Regions from separate parts of the Homo sapiens genome. Here regions 1, 2, 3, 4, 5 and 7 are each linked to region 6. The links are contacts of gene promoters, found by promoter capture Hi-C in human tissues and cell types (Jung and others, 2019). All regions are on one chromosome and are shown on one strand. The core of a region is centred on a gene start or on the middle of the fragment in contact, and the rest is flanking DNA. Distances in the headings are between cores, read along the strand shown. Region 1 overlaps ZNF100 (zinc finger protein 100). Region 2 overlaps LOC105372317 (a long non-coding RNA gene). Region 3 overlaps LOC124904663 (a long non-coding RNA gene). Region 4 overlaps ZNF737 (zinc finger protein 737). Region 5 has its middle 64 kb from the start of ZNF100. Region 6 holds the start of ZNF714 (zinc finger protein 714). Region 7 overlaps ZNF100 (zinc finger protein 100).

What was found. The method cuts DNA at HindIII sites, captures the fragments that hold promoters and counts their contacts. A contact is called where the count stands out against the background at its distance.
Region 1: a fragment that was not itself captured here is called in contact with the fragment with the promoter of ZNF714 in region 6 in 1 of the 25 tissues and cell types used here (heart left ventricle).
Region 2: a contact is called between a fragment that was not itself captured here and the fragment with the promoter of ZNF714 in region 6, in 1 of the 25 tissues and cell types used here (stomach).
Region 3: a fragment that was not itself captured here is called in contact with the fragment with the promoter of ZNF714 in region 6 in 1 of the 25 tissues and cell types used here (hippocampus).
Region 4: a fragment that was not itself captured here is called in contact with the fragment with the promoter of ZNF714 in region 6 in 6 of the 25 tissues and cell types used here (H1 embryonic stem cells, adrenal gland, hippocampus and 3 more).
Region 5: a fragment that was not itself captured here is called in contact with the fragment with the promoter of ZNF714 in region 6 in 1 of the 25 tissues and cell types used here (aorta).
Region 7: a fragment that was not itself captured here is called in contact with the fragment with the promoter of ZNF714 in region 6 in 1 of the 25 tissues and cell types used here (dorsolateral prefrontal cortex).

What each region holds. Positions count from the first base shown.
Region 1 is chr19:21,725,494-21,729,191 of GRCh38, reverse strand. It overlaps ZNF100 (zinc finger protein 100), which reads left to right. Exons shown (of 5, transcript NM_173531.4): 5 at 1,203-3,698. The coding sequence ends at 2,509. Among named protein-coding and RNA genes, the nearest start is that of ZNF100, 40 kb to the left of the region's middle. The HindIII fragment of the contact is 4,592 bases long and covers 1-3,698 here.
Region 2 is chr19:20,435,577-20,439,192 of GRCh38, reverse strand. The region is part of intron 1 of LOC105372317 (a long non-coding RNA gene); the gene reads right to left. Among named protein-coding and RNA genes, the nearest start is that of MIR1270, 38 kb to the right of the region's middle. The HindIII fragment of the contact is 4,344 bases long and covers 1-3,616 here.
Region 3 is chr19:20,411,639-20,415,598 of GRCh38, reverse strand. It overlaps LOC124904663 (a long non-coding RNA gene), which reads left to right. Exons shown (of 2, transcript XR_007067167.1): 2 at 1-578. It also overlaps the pseudogene ZNF826P. Among named protein-coding and RNA genes, the nearest start is that of MIR1270, 14 kb to the right of the region's middle. The HindIII fragment of the contact is 3,294 bases long and covers 1-2,989 here.
Region 4 is chr19:20,557,642-20,561,500 of GRCh38, reverse strand. The region is part of intron 1 of ZNF737 (zinc finger protein 737); the gene reads left to right. The region is part of intron 2 of LOC105372316 (a long non-coding RNA gene); the gene reads right to left. Among named protein-coding and RNA genes, the nearest start is that of ZNF737, 6.2 kb to the left of the region's middle. The HindIII fragment of the contact is 6,645 bases long and covers 1-3,859 here.
Region 5 is chr19:21,701,718-21,705,584 of GRCh38, reverse strand. No RefSeq gene overlaps it. Among named protein-coding and RNA genes, the nearest start is that of ZNF100, 64 kb to the left of the region's middle. The HindIII fragment of the contact is 3,485 bases long and covers 8-3,492 here.
Region 6 is chr19:21,080,246-21,083,841 of GRCh38, reverse strand. ZNF714 (zinc finger protein 714) reads right to left here and starts at 1,639. Exons shown (of 5, transcript NM_182515.4): 1 at 1,494-1,639. RefSeq lists an enhancer at 1,151-1,300. The HindIII fragment of the contact is 9,806 bases long and covers 1-3,596 here.
Region 7 is chr19:21,742,925-21,746,991 of GRCh38, reverse strand. ZNF100 (zinc finger protein 100) reads left to right here. Exons shown (of 5, transcript NM_173531.4): 3 at 1,925-2,051; 4 at 2,877-2,975. Among named protein-coding and RNA genes, the nearest start is that of ZNF100, 23 kb to the left of the region's middle. The HindIII fragment of the contact is 6,742 bases long and covers 1-4,067 here.

The DNA.
Region 1 (3,698 bases), core at 667-3,166, 650 kb before region 6:
CCTTCTGGCCTGCAAAATTTTTATTGACAATTCACTGGCTGTCTCATAAGACTATGCTGGCAAATGACGCATCACTTTTATCTTGCAGCTCCCAAGGTTCTCTTGTCTGTGACTTTTGAAATTGTGCTTATATATGTGTTTGTTATAAATATCTTTGTGTGTTTCCTAGTTTGTTTGTTGAGCTTCTTCATCTTTACATCGTTTCTTTCAATATTTTTCAGCTATTCTTTTTTATATTTATTACCTCCACAATTTGTTTTTTTGATATTCTAAATATTTATGTTCTTATCTTCATTTTTCTGATTTTCTATAGTTCTCTGTCTTCCTGTTTCACTCACTGAGTATTATTCAATTTATTTTCAATTTTTAAAATCGGTGTGTATACATCTTTTTTATAGTTTCTTTTTTAAAATTTTATATTTTTATGGAACCATATTGCCTTATTTTGTATACATTGTAATCCTTGATTGAAATTTGGACATTAAAAAAGGCTACCTGTCACAATCTTTATAATGTAGCTTTGTCCTGGCATAGTCTGAACAATCGTCTTGGTTAGAGATTCTGGGAGTCTCTCAAACATGTTCTTAGAATGTGTCTTGTCTGAGATTTTGTCTTTCTCTTTTAGTTAAAGGAGTTTATTCATGTTTCTTCTTAATAATAATCACGTGCTACACCTGTTTTCTGTCTGTGGTACAGCAGTCTCTCTGTTGCTGAAACATTTACCTTTGGTCTCAGCAAAGTTAAGACTGTCACTCCAAAGTATACCACCGTTTCTTTCAGCATTATATTTCAAGAGAGACACAAACCAGTGTCTGGAAAGGCTCCTAGAAGCAAGTAATAAAGATAAATGTGCCAGTATTTTACTTGTCATTAAAAACAAGTTGGCAATTTACTTCTAAAGACAGTATGTTATATTGGGGAGCAGAAAGAGCTCTGTTGGGTAAATGTACAGACTTTTACTTCTAAGTGGCTCTTTGCATTGTTCTCACCAGGGGCACTTCACACACTTAACTCATTTATAATTTTTTTCAGATGTAATTTGGTTGGTTTTTTTTTTTTTACATTTATATGTCTATAAAGGAATGAGGGCCTTTGGTATTTTCCTATGCCATCTTATTTATGTAGTTTGTATATTAGAGGTTAGATTTGTAAACTATCTGTGTCTAGTAAGTAAAGTAATTTGTTATTTTTATTTCTTTCAGTTATATGTTCTCATTTTCCCCAAGACCTTTGGGCAGAGCAGGACATTAAAGATTCTTTTCAAGAAGCGATTCTGAAAAAATATGGAAAATATGGACATGACAATTTACAGTTACAAAAAGGCTGTAAAAGTGTGGATGAGTGTAAAGTGCACAAAGAACATGATAACAAATTAAACCAGTGTTTGATAACTACCCAGAGCAACATATTTCAATGTGATCCATCTGCAAAAGTCTTTCATACATTTTCAAATTCAAACAGACATAAGATAAGACATACTAGAAAGAAACCTTTCAAATGTAAAAAATGTGAAAAATCATTTTGCATGCTTTTACACCTAACTCAACATAAAAGATTTCATATTACAGAGAATTCCTACCAATGTAAAGATTGTGGCAAAGCCTTCAACTGGTTCTCAACCCTTACTACACACAGGAGAATTCATACTGGAGAGAAACCCTACAAATGTGAAGAATGTGGGAAAGCATTTAACCGGTCCTCACACCTTACTACACATAAGATAATTCATACTGGAGAGAAACCATACAGATGTGAAGAATGTGGGAAAGCTTTTAACCGGTCTTCACACCTTACTACACATAAAAGAATTCATACTGGAGTGAAACCCTACAAATGTACAGAATGTGGCAAAGCTTTTAACCGGTCCTCACACCTTACTACACACAGGATAATTCATACTGGAGAGAAACCCTACAAATGTGAAGAATGTGGCAAAGCCTTTAACCAGTCCTCAACCCTTACTACACATAAGATAACTCATGCTGGAGAGAAACCTTACAAATGTGAAGAATGTGGCAAAGCTTTTTACCGATTCTCATACCTTACTAAACATAAGACAAGTCATACTGGAGAGAAATTCTACAAATGTGAAGAATGCGGCAAAGGCTTTAACTGGTCCTCAGCCCTCACTAAACATAAGAGAATTCATACTGGAGAGAAACCCTACAAATGTGAAGAATGTGGCAAAGCTTTTAATGAGTCCTCAAACCTTACTACCCATAAGATGATTCATACTGGAGAGAAACCCTACAAATGTGACGAATGTGGCAAAGCCTTTAACCGGTCCTCACAACTAACTGCACATAAGATGATTCATACTGGAGAGAAACCCTACAAATGTGAGGAATGTGGCAAAGCTTTTAACCGATCCTCAACCCTTACTAAACATAAGATAACTCATACTGGAGAGAAATCTTACAAATGGGAAGAATGTGGTAAAGACTTTAACCAGTCCCTAAGCCTTATTAAACAAAATAACTCATACTGGAGAGAAACCCTACAAATGTGAAAAATGTGGCAAAGCCTTTTACCAGTCCTCAACTCTTACTAAACATAAAAAAATTCATACTGGAGGGAACTCCTGTGACTGTGAAGAATATGGCAAAGCCTTTAATAAATTCTCAATTCCTAACAGACATAAGATAATTCATACTAGAGAGAAATTCTACAAACCAGAAAGATGTGACAGTGCTTTGAAAACACCTCAAACTTTTCAAAACATAAATCATAGTGTTGAGAAATCCTAGAAATGTGAAGAATGTGATAAAGTTTTAAATGGTTGTCACACTTGATTGTAGGTAAGGTAAGTTATACTGGAGAAAACTTCTACATGTGTGAACAGTGTGACAAAACTTTTAACTAATGCTCACACCTTCACAGGAAAGCATTTATACTTGAGAAATATTGTACAAATATAAAGACTGTGAAAAAGCCATTAATACATGCTCACATCTTACTCAACATCAGAGAGTTCATACTCAATAAAAACATAAGTGCAACTACTGTCAAAATATCTTTAAGAAAATATAAGCTTTTAAAGTGAAGAGTATTTTGAAGAAGAACATTGTAGTAGAATTGTAATATGTTTACTTGTATCACAGATCTTACTGTACACGTTTTGTATTAGAGGAAACCTCTGAAGCAGTTGCTCAAACTTTGTTCAATATCAGGGAATTTATATTGAAAAAAACTGTGCGAATGTAATAAAGTTGGAAAAATACTTTTTCAAAAACTACAGCTTAGAAAACACCAGAGAGTTCATACTAAAACATATTTTTGCAGATACAGGAAAAATTTTTTAAAAATTTTAATCATTAAGTCTGTAAATATCAGAGAATTTACAGTAGAAATATGTAAGGCACTGATGCTTCAGGTATTTTACTAAATCAGAGTGCTGAGTATAGAAAATAATCTAAAACTAAAATTGGTAAAATATTTGTATATAACTTTAAAAGTAGAAATTTTTTGCAGTTATTGCATTCAAAGTATGCTTAACTTTTTGAAAAAATTAGATTTTTTGAAAAGTGAGTAATAATGTAATTCAACTCTTAAATTATTTCCTGCCTTTTCTTCACTCCTATTTACATGTGAAAGCATGTGATCAATTGTTGCTGCATCAGATATGAGAGATTCTTTTTTATTAGGTGAGCATTATTTATAAACTTTGCTATGAAAAAGACATTAAAATATGAGATGTA
Region 2 (3,616 bases), core at 238-2,737, 640 kb after region 6:
ATAGTGGTGTTAAAAGGGAAGTTCATAGCATCAAGTGCCTACTAAAAAGTCTGAAAGAGCATAAGTAGACAATCTAAGATAACACCTCAAAGAACTAGAGCAACAAGAACAAGCCAAACCCAAACCCAGCAGAAAAAAAGAAATAACAAGGATCAGAGCAGAACCCTAGCAGGAGGGGTGGCTGCAGTCTCTGTGGACCAGCAGACTTAGCCTTTCCTCCTGCTAGTTTTGAGGGATTTAAGCAGCCCAGATGAGTGGATTTTCCCACAGCAAAACACCTCCCTCCACCAAAGGACAGTCAAAGTGCTTCATTAAATGGGTTCTGCTCCCCATCTGCTCCCCATTCCACCTTCAATAGGAATTGTCAGACACCCTATACAGGAGCAATTCTACTGGTATCAGATTTGTGTCTCTTGAGGTCAGAGATGACAGAGGAAGGAACAGACATTCTTCTTTGCTGTTCTCCAACCTCCTTGAGTAACATCTCTAGGCACGGGAGTGAACCAGATGGATAGGGCTTGAAGTGAACCCTAGCAAACTGCAGCAACCCTACAGAAGATGGACCTGACCATTGAAAGAAAAACAAACAGAAAGCAACAACAACAGCATCAACAAGAAAAAAAAGTACCCACAAAAACCTCATCCAAGGCTGCACATAGTGGCTTACACCTGTAATCCCAATACTTTGGCCAACATGGTAAAACCTCCTCTCTACTAAAAAATACAAAAATTAGCCAGGCATCCTTGTGCATGCCTGTATTCCCAGCTACTCAGTAGTCTGAGACATGAGAATCACTTGAACCTTGGAGGCAGAATTTGCAGTGAACTGATATGGTGCCACTGCAGTCCAGCATGGGTGACAGAGACTGTGTCCAAAAAAAAAAAAAAACCATCCAAGGGTCAGCACCCTCAAATGATTGAAACTAGACAAACTCAAGATGAGAAAGAATCAACAAAAAATGGCTGAAAGGCCAGAGTGCCTCTTTTCCAAATGATCAAAATGTCTCTTGAGCAAGGGTACAGAACTGAACAGAGAATGAGATGCATGAATTGACAGAAGTAGGTTTCAGATGACGGTTAACAACAAACTCTGCTGAGCTAAAGAAACATGTTCTAACCCAATTCAATGAAGCTAAGAACCTTGATAAAAGGTTAGAGGAACTGCTAACTAAAATAACCAGTTTGGAGAGGAATATAAATGACCTGATGGAGCTGAAAAACACAGCACGAGAACTTCATGAAGCATACAAAAGTATCAATAGCCAAACTGACCAAGCAGAAGAAGGATATCAGAGTTTGAAGACCACTTTGCTAAAATAAGGCATGCAGACACGATTAAAGAAAAAATAATAAAAAGGAACCAACAAAGGCTCTGAGAAATATGGTGTTCTTTGCAGGAAATGAGTGAGTGGAGAAGAAAAGACATACACACAAAATACCTTTAAAGATAAACAAGATTTATCCCACGTAAATGGCAATGCAGATATAGTAAGTAAATTTATATAATAAGAAAATTGCAATGGGAAGGGGAGAAGGGAATATATATATATATGTGTGTATATATATATATATTTACACTCACCAGACTATGGAGGATTTATCACCAGACCAGGAAGCAACAGTCTGGGCTCCAGAGTCAGCCAACAGTCCTTGCACAGACTAGGAGAGGTTTCTTGAAGCTTTAGTGTGGTCTGGGACCCTAGCTCTTCTTGTAACAAGTTGTTTGGCATGAAGCCCAGTCACGAGGGCCCTTTGTGACTGGGCTCAAGAAACACAAAAAGGTCAACTTGTTATTGTGATTGGCTATTGTTTTACAATAACTAACATATAGGAATAGATTGAAATAGAGACTTCTCTGAAACAGTGCTGAATGAACGCCTCAAAGGGGCTCACACAACCTGTGCCAAGACTTGGTGACCTTTATTTGTGTCCACGTTCAATTGAGTTCAAATTTAATACTTAACTTTTCGTCAACATTCGGCCTCAATTCGGTACTCAATTGTATTAAAATACCGTTATAGATACATGGGGAACTCATAGTTGACATAGATTATGGATACAGGGTAAGCATAGGAGAATTAAAAGCACAATTTAAAAAAAAAAACATACTCATGGCTTTGCAAGGAGACTAATATTGTGAGAATTGCCAGGGATATACACACAACATCCAGTATGCAGTAAGGCGCAAACCCCTCCTTGGGCTGCGGTAAGCATATCTAATGCCATTTGATTTTGCAACACAACAGTACGCAGCTGAGCAAATTCATCTGATAACAGCATAAGTCCAGTGCTACTATCATTAAGAGCTTTTTCTACATATAAGCTTAATATTTTAATTTGTTGGTGAAGCAGGATTGTTCTAGCGGCAGGGGAGAATACTGTGATAAGGTATCGCCACCAAGGAGGCCGGCACATTCATAACCAGTGGTGTTTGTAAGCATCCAGATTACTTGGGAGGGGGATATTATCCCGGATGGTGAATGGAATTAATGGCCACCCACAAGTGATCTCCCTGCCCAGTGTGGGGGCAGGTACCAACACCCACAGGATCTGCATACCCAGAGGGCCCCCCAGGGGACAGCCATGGACCTACTGTAAACATACTGTACTAATGTGTTATTAAAATAGGAAAGAGATTGTGGTTCATTGGGGGCAATGTTGTTGATTTGGAGTATGTGTTGACAATTGTCTGGAGAAACCCCAGAGTAACATTAGAGGAGCCATTTAAGGCCTCCAGATGAAGCAGGGGCTGTGTGGAATCCAGCCACCAGCACAGCAGGTTTCCAATATATACCGTTCCAGGAATATTGGGCAAAATACCAAGGCTTTTGATGGAAGGTGAGGGTGGAGTTCACCTTTTGTCTGACCTGGGCAAAGACAGATTGCTTAGTGTGGTGAAAGGAAGTCCAGGTTGGATTACAAGTGTTGTTGTTGTGGCCCCATTGATAACGACATAGCCATTCAGAAATATTGTCAGGGACGATTCTTCAAGGTAGCCCATTCCTGGCAGCCTCTGGCAACTCGATGTACAGCCAACATTCTCTGTGATTGGCTTTTGTTGCAGCAGTGGCTACCTAGTAAATGAATTTATTCTTGGCTTTAGACACAAAGACACAGGTGCTGACCATTAGTAGATAGGTTATTCCTTGTAATAACAAAAACAGAGGGGAACATATTGTTTTTCATCTTTAGGAAATTGTACTATGCCTTCATTTTCTGCTTTCATAGCTACAAGGTCACCAGCCTTAGGGGCAGGATCTGTTGAACCCTGTATCCATATATTGGCTCCAGGATTTAAGCTACCTGTAGGAGTGGATCTGAATCCCCCAATTCTGTATGTAGCCTCTGTTGGGGCAGAGATTTCCTCACGGGATAATTGTTGACAAGGTACCACTAATAATTGAGCAACAGGCATCTGCGGTCTTATAGCAAAAAAATCTGGAGTGGTATTGTATAAAATGTCCTTTAACTCTCCCCGGTAATCACTACCAATTATAGCACCATACATTATAATGCCTCTCATTGCAAGGCTTGAACACATTGTATTCCATTCATGCACATTCAAGTTTACAGTTATGGTGGAAATTTTGGCCTGTTGATCTTCCTGCTAATTAAA
Region 3 (3,960 bases), core at 93-2,592, 670 kb after region 6:
GTGAATTGAGTAGACATGTAGACAAGAAAGTCTCCACTATCCCCTTTCTACTCTTGCTGAAATGCTCACTAATGTGCAAGTAACACCTGCTGCTACTCCTGCCATTCAGGACCTAAATCTGTAGCTCCATATTTTGAATCCAGATCTTGAGATTTGGGAAATAAAAAACTTTTATCTAAAAAGTGCAAGCACTTTTGGTTATCAAACTCAGAGAGATGTTAAAATGAAAGAGCAGTTAACATCTTTCTCTCCCCTTTGAACTATGTATTCATCCCTTGAAACTGTTCACTATTGCCACAAGTAGCTATAAAGTAAATTAACAATGCCACATTGGATACTATATTCTATACCCTAAACAATAATGATATATATCTAATCAATAATCAATATTATTTATCTAAATAAATAAAAACTTCTGACAAACAACTTTGTATCAGACCACTCTATGTCCCTCTCTTGTCTTTACAAATCTTGTAACTGCTGCTAATCAAAGTGTAGATTTCAGGCAACTTGAATCTTTGCTCCCTGGTTATAATCCTTAAGCTTAAACCAAATAAACTGTCTACTTATATTCTTGATATGTCAGCTTTTTTTATTTAGACTTATCACTTAGAATGTTCTAGAGCAGCCTCTATGAGGGTACTCTCCTTTGATTGTACTCCATTTGCTGTAACACCAAAGGATGCAGAGCCAGGTTGATCCTATCTAGAATCTACAGATTAGGTCCGGCCTCTGCCTGGGATTTAAAAAGTGCCAGACTTTGGATATGGAATGTACAGAAAATTAACAAAAGTTATTTTCTGCATTGTAAGTTGTCAAGATAGACATCTTACAGCCCCCATTTCAGAGTGTGGCATTTTGAGTTTTTTTACATCTTTTTCATTGACCTGCTACAGTGATGTGAGAGGCTCCAGGAGGAAATAGAATCTGATGGCAGAATCTGTAAGTGTAAATAATCATCTTAGGAGTGAGAGATCAGGCCACAAAGTATCCAGAGCCATGACCACAACTATGTTTACCTGTAAAATGGGATACTGGAGTAGAGTATTTTTGTTCTGTCTTTTACCCAAGTGCTAGCATATCAGGACAGGTGACCCAGGTTCTGGGGCTCCACCAACGCAGTTTTATTTTCTATTTAGAATCAGCCTGAGTCGCTCCAGCCTGGCTTATCATTGGGCCATCAGCCCTGGGTCACTGGGAATTCCCTCACAATCACCTAGGTTTCTTTGAGGCATTTGAGGATGTCCAGAGTAGAATTGTGTCAGGCTGACAAGAGTGGTTAATTCTGCTTCTGTCTCAGTGTAAAGAAAAATGAGTCATTCTGTGTTTGTTCAACCCATCATACAAGAGTTGTCTTTGGTTTGTACAGGGATGAGAGTTTCTCCAGTTTCCTGGTACTTGGATGATAAACAAGGAGATCTGGAGACCCAAGTAGATAAACTAGTTGCTTCCATTTCTTATGGTCATTAAAAAAAAATACATGAAGCAGTCATGGTACCTACCACCTGAAGGGATATTAATGAACAGTAGAATTGTTATAATTAATTTTTCTTTTTTTGAGATGGAGTCTTAGTCTGTCACCCAGCCTGGAATGCTGTGTCATGATCTTGGCTCACTGCAACCTCTGTCACCTGGGTCTAAGCGATTCTCCTGCCTCAGCCTCTCAAATAGCTATGATTACAGTGCCTCCCACCACAGCCAACTAATTTTTGTATTTTTAGTAGAGAAGAGGTTTCACCATCTTAGTCAGGCTGGTCATGAACTCCTGACTTCATGATCCATCTACCTCAGCCTCCCAAAGTGTTGGTATTATAGGTGTAAGCCACTGTGCCCAGCCGTATAATTTCTGTTCTTTTACCTTCGTAAGTGTACACACTGATTTTCTTATAAAATTACCCTAGAAAACCTTAAGAGAATTGTTTAAATTGCATATTAGTATACAGTATAAAGTTGACAGAGCAGTGCTAGAAAATATTAAAATTACAGAAACTCTGGGGTTTTTCTTTTAGGTAAGATTAGAAAAAAAGAAAACTGTTAGTACCACAGTGGCATAGAGAACAGAATTCTATAGGATCCTCACCTTGTCCCAGACATGTTCAGATTCACCCTTTTTGGAGGCCTTATTTAGGTCTGACCCTACTCTGGAGTCTTGCCTCACAGAACTGATTAGAAGATATCAGAGTTTTGGCTGGTGAATCCAATTTCCTGAAACCCAAAAGCAGATAAATGGGAAAAATAAAGTATGTATTGTAGAGTCTTAGTTTTTAAATTTTCTGTTAAAACCAGTGTTGGCAGAGACATTCTATTTAGCAACTTGTTTTCTATTCCTGCAGATCCAGTAGTTGCTCCACAAGTCACAGAAAAGTAAACATAAACAGAATAAAATTTTCTCTAAACTACAATAAACTCTTCTATATCTCTTTCATCTGTATATATTTAGCTTTTATTCTTTACAATGTTTAAAAAAATTTGGTAACAGAGAAACAGAAGAGGCAGTAAAAATTCTCTGCCCTTTATCTAAATCCTGGAAATTATTAAACCCTGAGTACTAGCTCCAAGAATGTTACAAGAATTAAATCACATAATATGTTATGCCCAGCATAGTGCTCTGTATCATACTCTTGAGCACAAAGTACCTGCTTAATAAACATTGCATTTGTACATGTGTACATGTTTTTTAAATGCAGACTTATCCAGACATTGCTGCCTTCTGTTTCCTCTGTAAACTTTAAAGACCCAGCAAAGAATATAAAACTTTAGCATAGATGTGTTGTCCTTATTTGTACCAGAAGTATTTGGTTGTGACAAGAGTTCTAAGTGTAAGGGACCCTCTGCTATTCCTGCTTTCTCTAATGCTAATAATGAGCCAAGGAGAAGCAACATCAGCATTGACAGGGGACTTGTTTAAAACACCCATTTATGGACCCTTTTCAAACCTACAGAATCACATAAAGTGGAGTCAAAATTACCAAGTGATTTATAAGCTTCTTAAAGCTTGAGAGGCAATGCTTAGCTTAGTGGTTATCAGCCCAGGCTTCTCATTAGGATCACATGGCCAATTTGCAGAAATCTCTTGTGCCTTCCCCACCGGTTCTGTTTATTGTTCTGGGTGGAAGTATCCATGTTGTTTTAATGAAGGGCTTCACGTGACTCTAAGGGGAGGCCAGAATCAGGTATGAGGGTCTCAAAATACTTTCATGAGAGTTAAGAAGTTCCACCTTTGCACTAAGTGGTGCGCACAGGACCTGTTCTGTTTGGTTTTGGTAGGGGCAGGTCAGTGTGGCACATATTTCCATTACTGTAGCAGAAATTGCTGGTGTCTGTGGCAGAAAGGGCACCAGAGGACATGAAAGGAGAAACTTATATTTTTATCTTCATGGAGCATCTCATTGTTCTTGAATCTTTTTGTTGTAAAAAACAGAAATGGGTGGACTTTTTCTGTCTTTTTCTGCCAGTTGATGTCATGCTAGCAGGTAAACATGTGGTGCTGACACATTTAAAGGCATAGTCTCAAGATGCAGGGGTAATTTGGCCAGAGAATCTCATCTGACAAGGAATTCCAGAGGAGGAGGTGAAAAAAAAAAAAAAGGCTTCTCTTCAGGTAAACATGTCTCAGATGAAGAGCTGTGTTCACTCTGCCTCCTGGACTGCCATGCATGTAGCACTCACAAACCTTTACTTCTCTACTTGTGTTTTTTCTCCCTGGGTTTGGTTTAACTACTTAAAATTCTTACGATAGTCAAGGGTCTCTGAAAAAATAATTTTTCTTCTATATCCCAGAGCTTTCTCTGCATTCTCTGTGTCATAGCTTCTTATATGCCATGCAGGATTCTCAGCAATAAGTTATGATCTGCAATATTAAAAATGTTCCCTTTGTGGCTGTTGAACATGGAAAGATGCGGCTACTCAAGATTTCTATTGGGGAAAACTTTTGTCCTTAGTAAAGATGGAGAACGTGTA
Region 4 (3,859 bases), core at 490-2,989, 520 kb after region 6:
CAGGGTGACAGAGGACTGAAAACTTAGAAGAAAGGAGCTCTGATGACAGACCCCCTTTTCCCACAGCTGCCACCACAGGATTCCCACCCACTCACAAACACACACACTAGACATTGACATGTCCACCCTCCTCCCAGGAGTAGGCACCACCCTCAGGACCTTCACCACGGCGTTTTTGATCCTAGTGTTTCTTGCCAAGAACCCACAAGTCTCTACAAGTCTCCTGGCGTATCCCCACCCCCAGACACTAAATCTGCAGCAGCAATCTGTTTTCTCCACCAACCTAGCATTTTGAATCAGCTGTTCATAATCTCATATGTCTGCGTGCACACAGTAATAAATCAGAGTACAGCTGCACCAGGACAACTATCTGTAGCAAAAATCAGTCCTCTCACCTACATTGCAATCTCTCCCACCCAGGGATTTAATTTTTTCTTTTAGCTTTTATTTTTGTTTTGGGGTACACATGAGTTTGTTTTGGTGCATGGGGGTTTTGCGTGCAGATTATTTTGTCACTGAGGTATTAAGCATAGCACCAAACAGGTATGTTTTCTGATTCTCTTAGTCTTCCACCCTCCACCCTCAACTAGGCCGCAGCGTCTGTTGTTCTCCTCTTTGTGTTTGTGTGTTCTTATTATTTAGCTGTTACTTATAAATAAAAACATGCATTTGGTTTTCTGTTTCTACAGTATTTTCTTTTTCTTTCTTTCTTTTTTTTTGGAGACGGAGTTTCACTTTTGTTGCCCAGGCTGGAGTGCAATGGTGTGATCTCGGCTCACCACAACCTCCGTCTCCCAGTTTCAAGTGATTCTCCTGCCTCAGCCTCCTGAGTAGCTGGGATTACAGGCACATGGCACCACACCCAGCTAATTCTGTATTTTTAGTAGAGATGGCTTTTCTCCATGTTGGGCAGGCTGGTCTCGAACTCCTGACCTCAAGTGATCAACCTACATTGGCCTCCCAAAGTGGTGGGATTACAGGCATGAGCCACTGCGCCAGGCCTCTGCATTTGTTTTCTAAGAATGATGGTCTCCAGCTTCATTGACGTTATTGCAAAGGACATGATTTTTTTTTTTAATGGCCACAGAGTATTCCATGAGGTTTATATACCATATTTTATTTTGACTAAATCTTTTATTTCATTTTATTTTTGGAGACAGAGTCTCCCTTATTGCCCAGGCTAGAGTGCCATGGCATGATATTGGTTTACTTTAGCCTCAACCTCCCTGGCTCAAGCAATTTTCTCCTACCTCATGTTCCCAAGTAGCTTGGACTACACGCGGGCATTACCACACCTGGCCAATTTTTTTTTTTTTTTTTTTTTTTTTGAGACGGAGTCTCGCTCTGTCGCCCAGGCCGGACTGCGGACTGCAGTGGCGCAATCTCGGCTCACTGCAAGCTCCGCTTCCCGGGTTCACGCCATTCTCCTGCCTCAGCCTCCCGAGTAGCTGGGACTACAGGCGCCCGCCACCGCGCCCGGCTAATTTTTTGTATTTTTAGTAGAGACGGGGTTTCACCTTGTTAGCCAGGATGGTCTCGATCTCCTGACCTCATGATCCACCCGCCTCGGCCTCCCAAAGTGCTGGGATTACAGGCGTGAACCACTGCATCTGACCATACCATATTTTCTTTACCCAGTCTACCACTGATAGGTATTTAGGGCCTGTCCTTATCTTTGCTATTGTGAATAGTGCTGCAGTGAACATGCATGTGGATGTGTCTTTATAATATAATAATTTATGTTTCTTTGGGTATATACCCAATTATGAGATCCCTGGGTCAAATGATAATTCTGTTGTTAGTTCTGTGAGGAACCGCCACACTGCTTTTTACAGTTGTTAAACTATTTACACTCCCACCAGCAGAGTATAAGCATTCCGTTTTCTCTGCAACCTTGCCAGCATCTATTATTTTTTGACTTTTTGAAAATAGCCATTCTGACTGGTGTGAAGTGATATCTCGTTGTTGTTTTTCTTTTAATTTCTCTAGTGATTAGTGATGAGCATTTTTTTCAAGTACTTCTTAGCCACATGTGGTTTTTCTTTTAATTTCTCCCGTGATTAGCGATGAGCATTTTTTTCAGGTACTTAGCCACATGTATATTTTCTTTTGAAAAGCAGTGTTCATCTTTTTTGCCTACTTTTTAATGAGGTCGTTTGGTTTTGTCTTTTAAACTTGTTTAAGTTTCTAATAAATTCTGGATATTAGACCTTTGTCAGAGGCAAAGTTTGCAAAAATTTTCTTTTATTCTGTAGGTTGTCTTTTTCCTCTGTTGATAGTTTCCTTTGCTGTGAAGAAGCGCTTTAGTTTAAATAGGTCCCATTTGTCAATTTTTGCTTCTGTTGCAGTTGCTTTTGGTAGCTTCCTCATGAATTCTTTGCCAGTTTCTGTGTCTAGAATGGTATTTCCTAGGTTTTCATGCAGTGTTTCTTATAATTTTAAGCTTACATTTAAGTGTTTATCTTCAGTTGATTTTTGTATATGCTGTAATGAAGTGAGCTAGTTTCAGTCTTCTACATAGTGCTAGGTAGTTATTCCAGCACCATTTATTAAAGAGAGAATTCTTCCCACATTTCCCTTGTCAGCTTTGTCAAAAATCTGATGGTTATAGGAGGGTGGCATTATTTCTGGGCTCTCTATTCTGTTGCATTGGTCTTCAGCCTGAGTCTCTCTAGCCTGGCTTATCATTGGGCCATCAGCCCAGGGTCACTGGAAATTCCCTCACAATCACCTGGGTGTCTTTGAGGCATTTGAGGATGTTCAGAGCAGAATTGTGTTAGGCTGATAAGAGTGGTTAATTCTGCTTCTGTCTCAGTGTAAGGGAAATGAGTCATCCTGTGTTTTTTCATCCCCTCATACAAGAGGTGTCTTTGGTTGGTACCCAGATGAGAGTTTCTCCAGTTTCCTAGTACTTGGATGGTAAAGAAGGAAAAGATCTGGAGACCCAAATGGATAAACTAGTTGCTTCCATTTTATATGGCCATTAAAAAAAAACTATGCAGCAGTCTTTTTTCCTACAATCCAGAAGCTTTTAGTCTAGACTAGCAACTGGATAAATAATTGAATTGTGCATCATATGGTTGGTGCAATACATAGATGTGTCCAACACCTTGGGCTTTATTTAGGCCACTTTCTTTATATTTTTGAGACTTCTGATGTCTACATCTGAAGGCATATTTATGAACAGAAGAATTGTTATTATAGGTTCTTTTTTTTTTTTGAGACGGAGTCTCTGTCACCCAGGCTGGAGTGCAGTTGTGTGATCTTGGCTCACTGCTGCCCTCTGCTGCCCTGGTTCAAGCGATTCTCCTGCTTCAGGCTCCTGAGTAGCTGGGATTACAGGTGCCAGCCACCATGCCCAGCTAATTTATATATATCTTTTTTTTAATCTTTGTATATTTAGTAGAGATGGGGTTTCACCATCTGGTCAAGCTGGTCTCGAAATCCTGAGGTCGTGATCCACCCACATCATCCTCCCAAAGTGCTGGGATTATGGGCATCAGCCACCACTCCTGGCCATATAATTTCTATTTCTTTTACCTTGCTACATGTACATATTTATTTTCTAATAAAATTACCCTAGAAAAGCTGGGCATGGTTGCTCATGCCTGTAATCCCAGCACTTTGTGGGGCCGAGGCAGGTGGATCACAAGGTCAGGAGTTTGGGACCAGCCTGGCTAATATGGTGAAATGCTGTCTCTACTAATAATACAAAAATTAGCTGGGCGTGGTGGCATGCACCTGTAGTTCCAGCTACTCAGGAGGCTGAGAGAGAAGAATCACTTGAACCCTGGAGGCAGAGGCTGTAGTGAGCAGAGATGGCACCACTGCACACCAGCCTGTGTGACAGAGGGAGACT
Region 5 (3,867 bases), core at 501-3,000, 620 kb before region 6:
AGGGTGGGGAGCCAGTGTTTTCACTGGCTATGTAAATGGCACTCCTGGTCAACCAAACCCCTGGGCCCTATGTAAATCAATCACTGCCTCCACAAGCCTCTCTACAAAATCAATCGTGTTCTACCCCAAACCCAGAAACTCTTCTGGGTGACCTGCTTTCTCAGCATGAGGAAGCTTTCTCTCTTCTTTTTTGTCTATTAAACTTTCTGCTCCTAAACCCACTCCTCCTGTGTGTTTATGTCATACATTTTCCTGGCATTAGACAATGGACCCCAGGTATTTACCCCAGACAGTGCAGCCATTTCATCTGGGAGCTTGTCCAGGATCAGAACAAAATACAGAATCATCGGAGTGGTGAGTATGGAGTGACCATCAAATCTGACCTTTAATCTCAAGGCTCTCAACCTCCATTTTAAAATACTTCAGGCTGGGCACAGTGGCTCACGCCTGTAATCCCAGCACTTTGGGAGGCTGAGGTGGGAAGATCACCTGAGGTCAGGAGTTTGAGACCAGCCTGGCCAACGTAGTAAAACACTGTCTCTACTAAAAATACAAAAAATTAGCTGGTGTTGTGGCAGGCACCTGTAATCCCAGCTACTCGGGAGGCTGAGGCAGGAGAATCGCTTGAATCCAGGTGGCGGAGGTTGTGGTGAGCCAAGATTGCACCATTGCACTCCAGCCTGGGCAACAAGATCGAAACTCCATCTCAAATTAAAAAAAAAAAAAAAAAAAGAATGATACAGCAAAGGCTGGAACTAAGGAGATTCCATTTATGAGAGTCTTACATAATTATTTATAAGGAGGTGGAAAGAGATGTTACTAGTAACCATGTTCTGGGTGGTTCTCTTCGTACACACACTCAGTACCTGTACATGTTTCTTTATATGTCACATATCTCATTAGCATCTTAAATCTCCACACACGTGAGTGTTTTTTACTATTACAATGAGTAAAAGGTCAGTTAGAGGACAGGTAAAATCAAACTGTGCTCTCTACAGGGGAATTTCCCTGCTGGAGAGAGCTTTTCTTGAATGAGCTGAAATCCAATGTAAATGTTGGTGCTTATTGTGTTGGCAGTCTGCAGTTGTCATGCAATCACCATGGTTGCCGCATCCCCAGGACATAGCCACTTTCTTGATTACCTAGCCCGCCTCAATAGTACTTGATTTATTCCCCAACTATCAACTCTAAGGCTCAGATTTAGCTGTTATGTCAACATTGTCAACAGTGGCAAAATTAAAATTTTTAAATCAAACATATTTGAGCTTCATTTGGGTCACTAGCTGTGTATCCAAGATAAATCATTTTACATTTCTGGAGCCTCAATATTCATTATTAATAAAAATTATTTCCCCCAAGGCTATTTTAGTTCATGCATGGTAGCTATAATACATGAAAGTCTTGTCTAAATATTATATTAAATACTTAGGAGAAAGAAAATCATATTTCAAAGATATAAGTGAGTTGGTATATTTTGTCATATTTAGTGTATTTTTTCTTTTTTAAAAATGCCAAAATAAGAATTTTATTATTTTTTCTGGAATAACAGAATGTTTCTAAGTTATGACTTTGCTGATTTTTACATATGGTTTTCTGCTACTGTTGAATGTAGGTTAAATTTCAAACCCACTGTTTTTTAGCTTGTGTGGTTTTTGGGGTCATTTTGGGGAACAAAATATATTAGACATTGACTGTTTGGGGAAACTTGGTTTCATTCCTGCCCTCTTTCTTTTATTACATCTAGGGCTTCAAAAATGACTAGGATTCTAATAAGGTTGATTTGAAATCAAGCAACAGAAATTCCCAGAAAAGTCTCAGGGAAATAGCTACTGGATAGTGTCTTTTTGTGAGATTTATACATGAAACAGAGTTCAATAAAATTTATAAAATTATTGCAAGTTTTTGGGCCAGGTGTGGTGGCTCACCCCGGTAATCCCAGCCCTTTGGGAGCCCGAGGTGGGTGGATCACCTGAGGTCAGGAGTTCGAGACCGGCCTGGCCAACGTGGTGAAACTCTGTCGCTACTAAAAATGCAAAAAATAGCTGGGCATGGTGGCAGGCACCTGTAATCCCAGGTATTTGGAGGGCTGAGGCAGGAGACTTGCTTGAACCTGGGATACAGAGGTTGCAGTGAGCCGAGATTGTGCCACCACACTCCAGCCTGGGTGACAGAGCGAGACTCTATCTCAAAAAAAAAAATTGCAAGTTTTTTAAATTTAGAAACTAATTGCCTTCAACATATTAGTGCCTTGTCTTAGTTTGTCTACAGCAACCCTACCTTGGGGAAGCTAAAATTACAGAAAAGGATATTGCTACTGTAATAAGTTTTGGAACAAATACTTATGTGCTTATGAACATTCCTCCTTAATAATCCTTAGATACATGTCATTCTGGCTCAATCCTTTTGGCAGGACTGTTTGTAATTCCAGAGACTTTTTCTCACCAAAGAGAAGCCATGGAGTTTTCAACTTTTTTTTTTTTTTTTTTTTTTGAGATGGAGTCTCACTCTGTCACCAGGCTGGAATGCAGTGGTGTGATCTCGGCTCACTGCAACCTTCACCTCCCGGGTTCAAGCCATTCTCGTGCCTCAGCCTCCTGAGTAGCTGGGATTAGAGGTGTGCGCCACCATGCCCAGCTAATTTTTGTATTTTTAGTAGAGACGGGGTTTCACCACGTTGGCCAGGATGGTCTTGATCTCTTGACCTTGTGATCCGCTTGCCTAGGCCTCCCAAAGTGCTGGGATTACAGGCATGAGCCACCATGCCCAGCCTCAGCTTTTTATGTTTATGTTTACTAGTGAGCTTCATAGTTGACATCATTATATTGGGGTCCCCCAGGAACCTCTGAGCCTTAGAGCTGACCATCCTACCTCATCCTTCTTGCTTCTCATGCTCTGTTGTTGACTCCCTCTCACTTCATGTTTGAGCCTTCATGAAACTTCAGTTTGGAGAAACCAGAGACACGGGTTGCCATATATCTTGAGAATCAGGATCCTCTTGAGGATAAAGACTTTACATTTATCATTCATGTTACAAAACAGTATTTTTAAGATGTGAACATGTTTCAGTGAAATTAAATAAAATGATTTTATCAGTATGCCAATGTGATCAAAATAACTGTATCAAGTTCACCAAATGTTTTGCTTTAGACTCTCCCAAAACAAAGATCAATATGTATGCACTGGTAGATGTTAGTTTTTTTGGTGTAGCTTTTTGTTTGCATTTTTAAAGATTTTTTTTCTACTCTATGCTGATGTTAAGCTACACAAAGCTTACCAAAAACTTAATTTTATCACATTTTTCAAGTGAAAGGTTAAATACTTTTTTTTTTTTTTTTTTTTTGAGGCAGAATCTCACTCTGTAACTCAGGCTAGAATGCGGTGCTTCAATCTCAGTTCACTGCAATCTCTGTCTCCTGAGTTCAAGCTATTCTCTTGCCTCAGCCTCCTGAGTAGCTGGGATTACAGGTGCTTCCCACCATGCTTGATTTTTGTATTTTTAGTAGTGATGGGTTTTACCATGTTGGCCAGGCTGGCCTTGAACTCCAGACCTAAAGTGATCCACATGACTCAGCCTCCCAAGTGCTGGGATTACAGGCATGAGTCCCCATGCCCAACCTAAATACTTACATATTGAAATTGACATTCTAGATTATTCTTTTCCACATTATATCGTCTGTAATTATTAGTACTGCATTGCAGTTTTTTCTTGCACAAGCTTATAAAAATATATCCAGTTGATTTCTTAGATAAGAGAAGAATCTGTTTTTTCAGACAGTAGCATGAGAATTCTTGACATACTATCTTTAGAGATACTGAAAGCAACTGGATAAATTTGCTGAAATTTGTCTTTGTTCATAAGCCCACTAG
Region 6 (3,596 bases), core at 390-2,889:
ATCACCTCATAAAGGTTTCAAAGGAATACCTTGACCCAAAAACATTCTGACAAGATCTTTGTACCTAGAGAAGATACAAGGAGAAGAGGCACAGAGAAATTTTACAATACAGTGTCAGGGGATTATTCTTTGCTTTCTTCTCATGGGAAAGTTACAAACAGGTAACAAACCTTTTAAAAAGCGTCATTTAAAGCTTTGTCAAAAAATAATTAATTAAAATATGGTATACAAAAGTACACTAAAAGACAAACAGGTGATAACGTGAATTAGGGAGGAAAAGCTGGCATTAGGGAATGCCAGGAGGAACTGGAAATTTAATATCTTACTGCAAGCCAGAGTGAGGCTGGAGATATGGGGGACGGGAGGTTAGATTTAAGACAGTGCTTGGGACACAGTTGAAAAATGCACCAGAAAATCAGTTCCCCATGGAGTGTGAAAATAATTAAGCGGCGGGAAATTAGACTGAGGTGTCTCTAGTCCCTGGATTCCTACTTTTAAAAAAATCTGGCTGGGCGCGGTGGCTCACGCCTGTAATCCCAGCACTTTGGGGAGGCCGTGGAGGGCAGATCACCTGAGGTCGGGAGTTCGAGACCAGCCTGACCAACATGCAGAAACCCGTCTCTACTAAAACCACAAAATTAGACGGGCGTGGTGGCGCATGCCTGTAATCCCAGCTACCTGGGAGGCTGAAGCATTGGATCGCTTGAACCCGGGAGGCAGAGGTTACGGTGAGACAAGATCGCCCCATTGCACTCCAGCCTGGGCAACAAGAGCGAAACTCCATCTTAAAAAAAAAAAATCTAACTGAGGTGCATTTTTAGTAAATTACTACATTGAGAGAAACAAAATTCATCCTTAACCAACTATAAACTGCCAATTAACATCTAATTACATAACCAGGAAATTTTCACCTTTATTTTACAAATTAAGAAACTATGTATCTGAACCTAACCAATTACTGAATTTGGTTTTCTTCATCATGCTGTTTATAAAAGTCTTTACTTCAAGCCCCGCCCATAAACCATAAATTACAAACCACAGCTGGGTGCTCCACAATTTTTGAATCACGCTTTGATTAAATGCTTTAGTGTTTTAACGGTGACTCCCATACATTTTCAACAGAAGAGGAACTGGAACCCCACGGACCCATTCATAAACCCGCACCCCGAGTCAGGATTCTACCCCTGGGACCCTCCAGTGGTCCCTGCACAATCCGGGAGAGACGCGCCGCTGAGGGTCCAGAGCTGCCCTGAGAGGACTCCAGGTCAGGGCCCAGTCACTGCGCAGGGAAAAGACAGGACGCCCGGGATCCCGCAGTCAGCGCAGCCGCCATCTTATGGCTGAAGGGGACTGAGGCCGAGCTGAGCAAGGAGAACTCCGGGCGCAGATTGTAGAGTTGACTGCGGGGAGGCCTAAGTCCCACCACAGCCACTTCCCACCGCTTACAACCCGCCCCTTCCCCTCTCTCGGGATGTCGGACCCGGCACTCTCACCATTTCTAGGCTTCCGGGGTACCTGGCGTCTTAGCTGTGGATCTCTCAATACCTGCAGGTCACAGGGCCACAGAGGCTGGGCCTCTGCGAGCAGAGGACACAGGGCAGTGAAGGCGAGACCTGCAGCTCCAGCTGCAGCGAGAGACAAAGGCCCCGCCACATCCCCGAAGCCGTCCTGTCCGCTCCAGCTGCAGGCCTGATTGGACGGTTCCCAACCCAGCGTCGCTGATTGGATAACTTTTAAAACCCCACCTTCTCGTGCCCTGAGTGACAGAAGATGTGATCAGTTGCTGGGCTGAGTGAAGAAAGGGTGACAGCCTAGGCTGCAGCCTTCTCAGGCAGGGCTTCCTCCCAGAGCTGAGCCAGGCCCACCCCAGAGGGAATTTGCCTTTAAACTTGTGTGTAAAGTCATATGCATTTATAAATAATATATGGCTCTTCACAAAGGAAAAAATATAATTTTATAATAACAATTATTTTAAAATTTCAGATTTTATGACCTTCCTGGCTTCTTTCTGGTCTTTGAGCAGGCAGGCTGAGATTTTAGAAAGGAGGTAATCCTCTGAAATAAAATGTGAGCCATATGTGAATTTTAAGTTTTCTAGTAGCCAAACTTGAAAAAGAAACAAGAACAGGTTGAATTGATTGTAACAATTTAATTAACCCAATATATCAAAAAAATTTTCATTTTAATGTGTGAGAAATATGTAATTATTAATAAAGTATATAAATATTTGGAACTAAATCTTTGAAACTAACTCTGTATTTTACCTTTCTAGCATCGCACTTCAGACCAGGCGCCACACATGGCCAATAACTGCCACATTGAAGTGCAGCTCTGATGTCAGCGGTGTGAAGGGCCCAAGCAAACCTTTTCTGCCAGAGGTGAAGGAAGAGCCTCTCCCTACCAACATCTCTCTTCCGTTCCGGGGGTGGAACAGATAGTGGCCAAAGAAAGAGGAGACGGCAGCAGGAATAAAATAATTACAAGTAAAGCACTGCTGGATGAGATCACAGGCGCGCGCCACCATGCTCGGCTAATTTTTTGTATTTTTAGTAGACACGGGGTTTCACCATGTTGGCCAGGCTGGTCCTGAACTCCTGACCTCAGGTGATCTGCCCGCTTTGGCCTCCCAAAGTGTTGGGATTACAGGCGTGAGCCACCGCACCCAGCCTCAAAATGTTTTTTCTTTCTTTTTTTTTAATTTTAAAAAATGATGGGAACATGTCAAAGGGAGCCAGCCTGAAAGAACTCCCAATGGTCCATCCTGGAACAATGTTAGCATCCAAATGAATAATTAGAGCACTGACCTATAAAATAAATCAAGTCAAATAAATAAATACCCATGCATTTACACTGATACACAAAAAACTTTAAATAAATAAAAAAGAAAAAAGGATAGGGAAATTTTTTTTTACAGAATTCCAAATACTAATCAACATAGATAAAATGCTAAAGAAACCATCACAAAACCACCAGTTATTATTGTATCCAAGGTTAACTGAGGAGTGTAAAAATTGTAAATAACACTTAAAAAATAAGCATTGTATTTGCATAGCACCAAAGTATCTGACTAAATTGTACCCTTCAGTTTTAAAGCAACCTATCACTATTAAAAGCAACAATTATGACTCTTTGTTACTGGATTTATAATATGTAGATGTAAAATTGTAAAAGCACCACAAAAGATCAACGAATAAAATAGAATCGCCCAGGCACGGTGGCTCACGCCTGCAATCCCAGCACTTTGGGAGTCCGAGGTGGGTGGATCAAGAGGTCAGGAGTCCGAGACCATCCTGGCTAACAAGGTGAAACCCTGTCTCTACCAAAAATACAAAAACTTACCTGGGTGTGATGCCGCACGCCTGTATTCCCAGCTACTCGGGGGGCCGAGGCAGGAGAATCGTTTGAACCCGGGAGGCGGAGGTTACAGTGAGCCGAGATCGCGCCACTGCACTCCAGCCTGGCGACAGAGGGAGACTCTGTCTCAAAAAAAAAAAAAAAAAAAAAAAGAGCTGCCTGGGCAACATAATAAGACCCCATCTCTACAAAAAAAAAAAAAAAAAAAAAAAATTAATTAGCCACTGTAGTGGTGTGTACGT
Region 7 (4,067 bases), core at 1,178-3,677, 660 kb before region 6:
TGGTCTTGGTCCTTCTGTCTGTGGGCGTGGTGCTAGCAGGTAAGAAGGTGGTGCTGACACATTTAAGGCAGTTTTCTCAAGATGTAGATGTTACTTCTTTAGAGAATTTCATCTGAAAAGGATTCCAAGAGAAGAAGGAGAAAGAGGAAAAATGATGTTTTTTTTTCTTCAGCTAAGTAAGTCTCACATCAAGAGCTTTGTCCACTCTTTTCTAGAGTCTCATGCATTTAGTATTTGCAAACCTTTACTTCTCTACTTGTGTTTTTCCTTACTAATGAGTTTAACTACTTTTTAAAATTCTAATGATAGTCAAGGGTCTATGCAAAATATTTCTTTCCTATGTACTAGAGCCTTCTCTACATTCTCAATATCATGGCTTCTTATATGCCATGCAGAATTCCTACCATGAATTTATGATCTGCACTATTAAAAATGTTCCCATTGTGGCTGTTGAACATGGAAGGATGTGGATACTCAAGATTCCTATTGGGGAAAGCTGGGGTTTACGTGGAGAATATGTAATGTTGAGGTTCCATCTGTGTTCTCCATTAGCTCTATGCAGAACAGGATTAAGAAAATACTTACTTAAATAGGATGGCATTTATTACCCAGAAAGTTCTGAAAAAAGATTGAGAGATACCTGCTATATAGGGTGCTGAAGAAAGACTACTTAAAATCATTATTGAAAATTACAGAACATTGGAGATACCTGTATCTTGAACTTTGCATAAAACTGATGTTTCTGTATGATTGAATTCAGAATATAATTTACTTTTGGAGGGGCAATATCTAGGCAATGATGCTATGTTCTTCTATGTGCATAAGCACAACATAAAAATTCGTCCTACTATGGTTGATATTAATAATTTACTTGGTTAAAAAGCTCTCTGATATTTCTTTCACTACAGAGTTAACTATTTTTCTTGTCATTATTAGGCATCTTTATGCAGTTAATGTGCATAAGCCATCACATTTAATCTGGCAGCTGCCCTTTTTTCTTATGTTTTCTTTGCATGTAGCTGTCTTTGGAAAATGAAGGCTCTTTGTTTTACAGGCCAGAAAAATCTGGTAAAACACAGGCTCTTCCACTTACTGGATGTTTCACAGAATTTTCTTTTGGGGCCAAAAACTTTGGCATTACTAGTGAGCTCGTTAGAAATTCAGAAACTCGGCCGGGCGTGGTGGCTCACGCCTGTAATCCCAGCACTTTGGGAGGCCGAGGCGGGTGGATCATGAGGTCAGGAGATCGAGACCATCCTGGCTAACAAGGTGAAACCCCGTCTCTACTAAAAATACAAAAAATTAGCCGGGCGCGGTGGCGGGCGCCTGTAGTCCCAGCTACTCGGGAGGCTGAGGCAGGAGAATGGCGTGAACCCAGGAAGCGGAGCTTGCAGTGAGCCGAGATTGCGCCACTGCAGTCCGCAGTCCGGCCTGGGCGACAGAGCGAGACTCCGTCTCAGAAAAAAAAAAAAAAGAAAGAAATTCAGAAACTCAGACTTCATTCCAGATCTTCTGAAAAAAAATCTGCACAAGATTTCCAGTTTATTGTAAACATTAAAATTCAGGAGGTGCCTTCTAACTCAACATCTCTTTTTTGTCTGAAAAATATACACAACTCATTCTTTATGATATAAATAATAACACTCAAAAATGTATATGTTTGTGTTTATGCTCTTAATTTTATACTTTATCTAGAAAAGTGTCATATATACACTGGTGTTGTGGATCTTATGCCATTCTCTTCTCTCAGAATTAGAGAATATTTTAGAGAATATTTCTGTGTTAAAAATTATTGGAAAATTTGTCATTTCTATTAATCAGAACCAATTCTCTTTGCTCTGTCATTTCATTTTAATTCAAATAATAAATTCTGCCCATGGCCACTTGGTAAATATATGTGTGTCTCTGTGCTTGTGCTTTTCAGGGGCCATTGACGTTTAGGGATGTGGCCATAGAATTCTCTCTGGAGGAGTGGCAATGCCTGGACAGTGCTCAGCAGGGTTTGTATAGGAAAGTGATGTTAGAGAACTACAGAAACCTGGTCTTCTTGGGTGAGAATAACTTTAATACACAATTTCTAATATACCGTAAAGGTTTCTCTTTTTTTGTGGAATGATTTTTGGTAATTCATGCTTTGCATAAATGAGTTTCTGATCCGTTTTTTCAAGAAAATCTTGAGGCTGTGTGTGGAAAAGAATGTATTCAAGATGTTTCATCTTGACCTGAACTTTCCATATTCCTGAGCTGATCTGTATCCTTCACTCTAGATTAGTGGTAATTCCAGAAATTTAGTGTCATAAAATATTGTTGCCCATGTTTTTAGGCCGGGCATGGTGGCTCACTCCTGTAATACCAGCACTTTGGGAGGCTGAGGCAGGCGGGTCACGAGGTCAGGAGTTTGAGACCAGCCTTGCCAACAAAGTGAAACCCCATTTCTACTAAAAATACAGAAATAGCCGGGCATGGTGGCAGGCGCCTGTAGTCCCAGCTACTCAGGAGGCTGAGGCAGGAGAATTGCTTGAACCCAGGAGGTGGAGGTTGTAGTGAGCCGAGATCATGCCACTTCACTCCAGCCTGGACAATAGAGCGAGACTCCGTCTCAAAAATAAATAAATGTATATATATGTACATATATATTTGCCCATATTTTAAAATCCATTCATCACCACCAATTTTTTGATTCATGAGTACCGGGTAGTGAAATTAAGAACCTACAAATTTAAAATATTTTCTAAATATTTAGAAATTTCTCTCATTAATTAGTACGTTAGGATTAATTTTCTAGAATATTCTATCACCTCCTCTTTACTAAGCATAGTACTAGGTTGGTAATTGGAGAATATGAGAAAGATTCATGTTATTTATTTCTAATAAAGCAGGTATTGCTCTCACTAAGCCAGACCTGATCACCTGTCTGGAGCAAGGAAAAGAGCCCTGGAATATAAAGAGACATGAGATGGTAGCCAAACCCCCAGGTAGGTGAGAGTGAACACAACAGATGACACAGATGTGAGGTCCAAAGGTCAAAAAGAAAGCTGGTCATTAAAATGTGGTTTGGGAAGCTATGTTCCAAAGGAAATAGTTTCTGGGATGCCTGAGTGTTTTTGTTTTTTGGGCTTTTTTTTTTTTTTTTTTTTTGGCTGTCACGTAGGGGCATCTTCTGTCTTATGCTTTTAAATTCTTTAAAGATTCTACTTTCCTTTTGGTGATCTTCCTTCAGGTTTACAGTGAGAGCCAGAGTCCTTTTCAAGGCATATAAAAGACTGCACAATCTCCCTACTTTTCCATTATTTGGGGGGACACACAGATATCTGCATAATTTTGGGAAACTCTATGTTAAACTATTTTTTAGTTCTCTTTTTTCATCATGTCTGAAATGTGTGAAAGTAGTGTTTTCTGTTCCGTTGTTTTGTTTGTTAATCTTTTTGCACATTCCATCCTGTTTTTATTACTATATTCTTGAAATATAGTTAGAACTTATAAAGTATAATACCCCTCTGCTTTGTTCTTTTGCCTCAAGATTGCTTTGGCTATTTGAAGTTTATTGCAGTTTCTTATAAATTTTAGAATTGTATTTTTTATTACTGTGGAAAAAAATGCCACTGGAATTTTAATAGGAAGTTTATTGGAGCTATAGATTACTTTAGATAATATGACACTTTAACAATATTTATTCTTTCAATCCATGGACATGAAATATTTTAAAATTTGTGTCTTCAATAATTTATTTCATTGATATATCTTTTTTGTTTTGTTTTGTTTTTTGAGACGGAGTCTCGCTCTGTCATCAAGTTGGAGTGCAGTGGCGCGATCTTGGTTCACTGCAACCTCCACCTCCTGGGTTCAAGCAATCTTCCTGCCTCAGCCTCCTGAGTAGCTGCGACTACAGGCACATGCCACCACGCCAAGCTAATTTTTTTAATTTTTAGTAGAGATGGGGTTTCACCATGTTGGCCAGATGATCGTGATCTGTTGACCTCTTGATCTGCCTGCCCCGGCCTCCCAAAGTGTTGGGATTACAGTCGTGAGCCACTGTGCCTGGTCTATCTTATATCTTTTATTGTAAA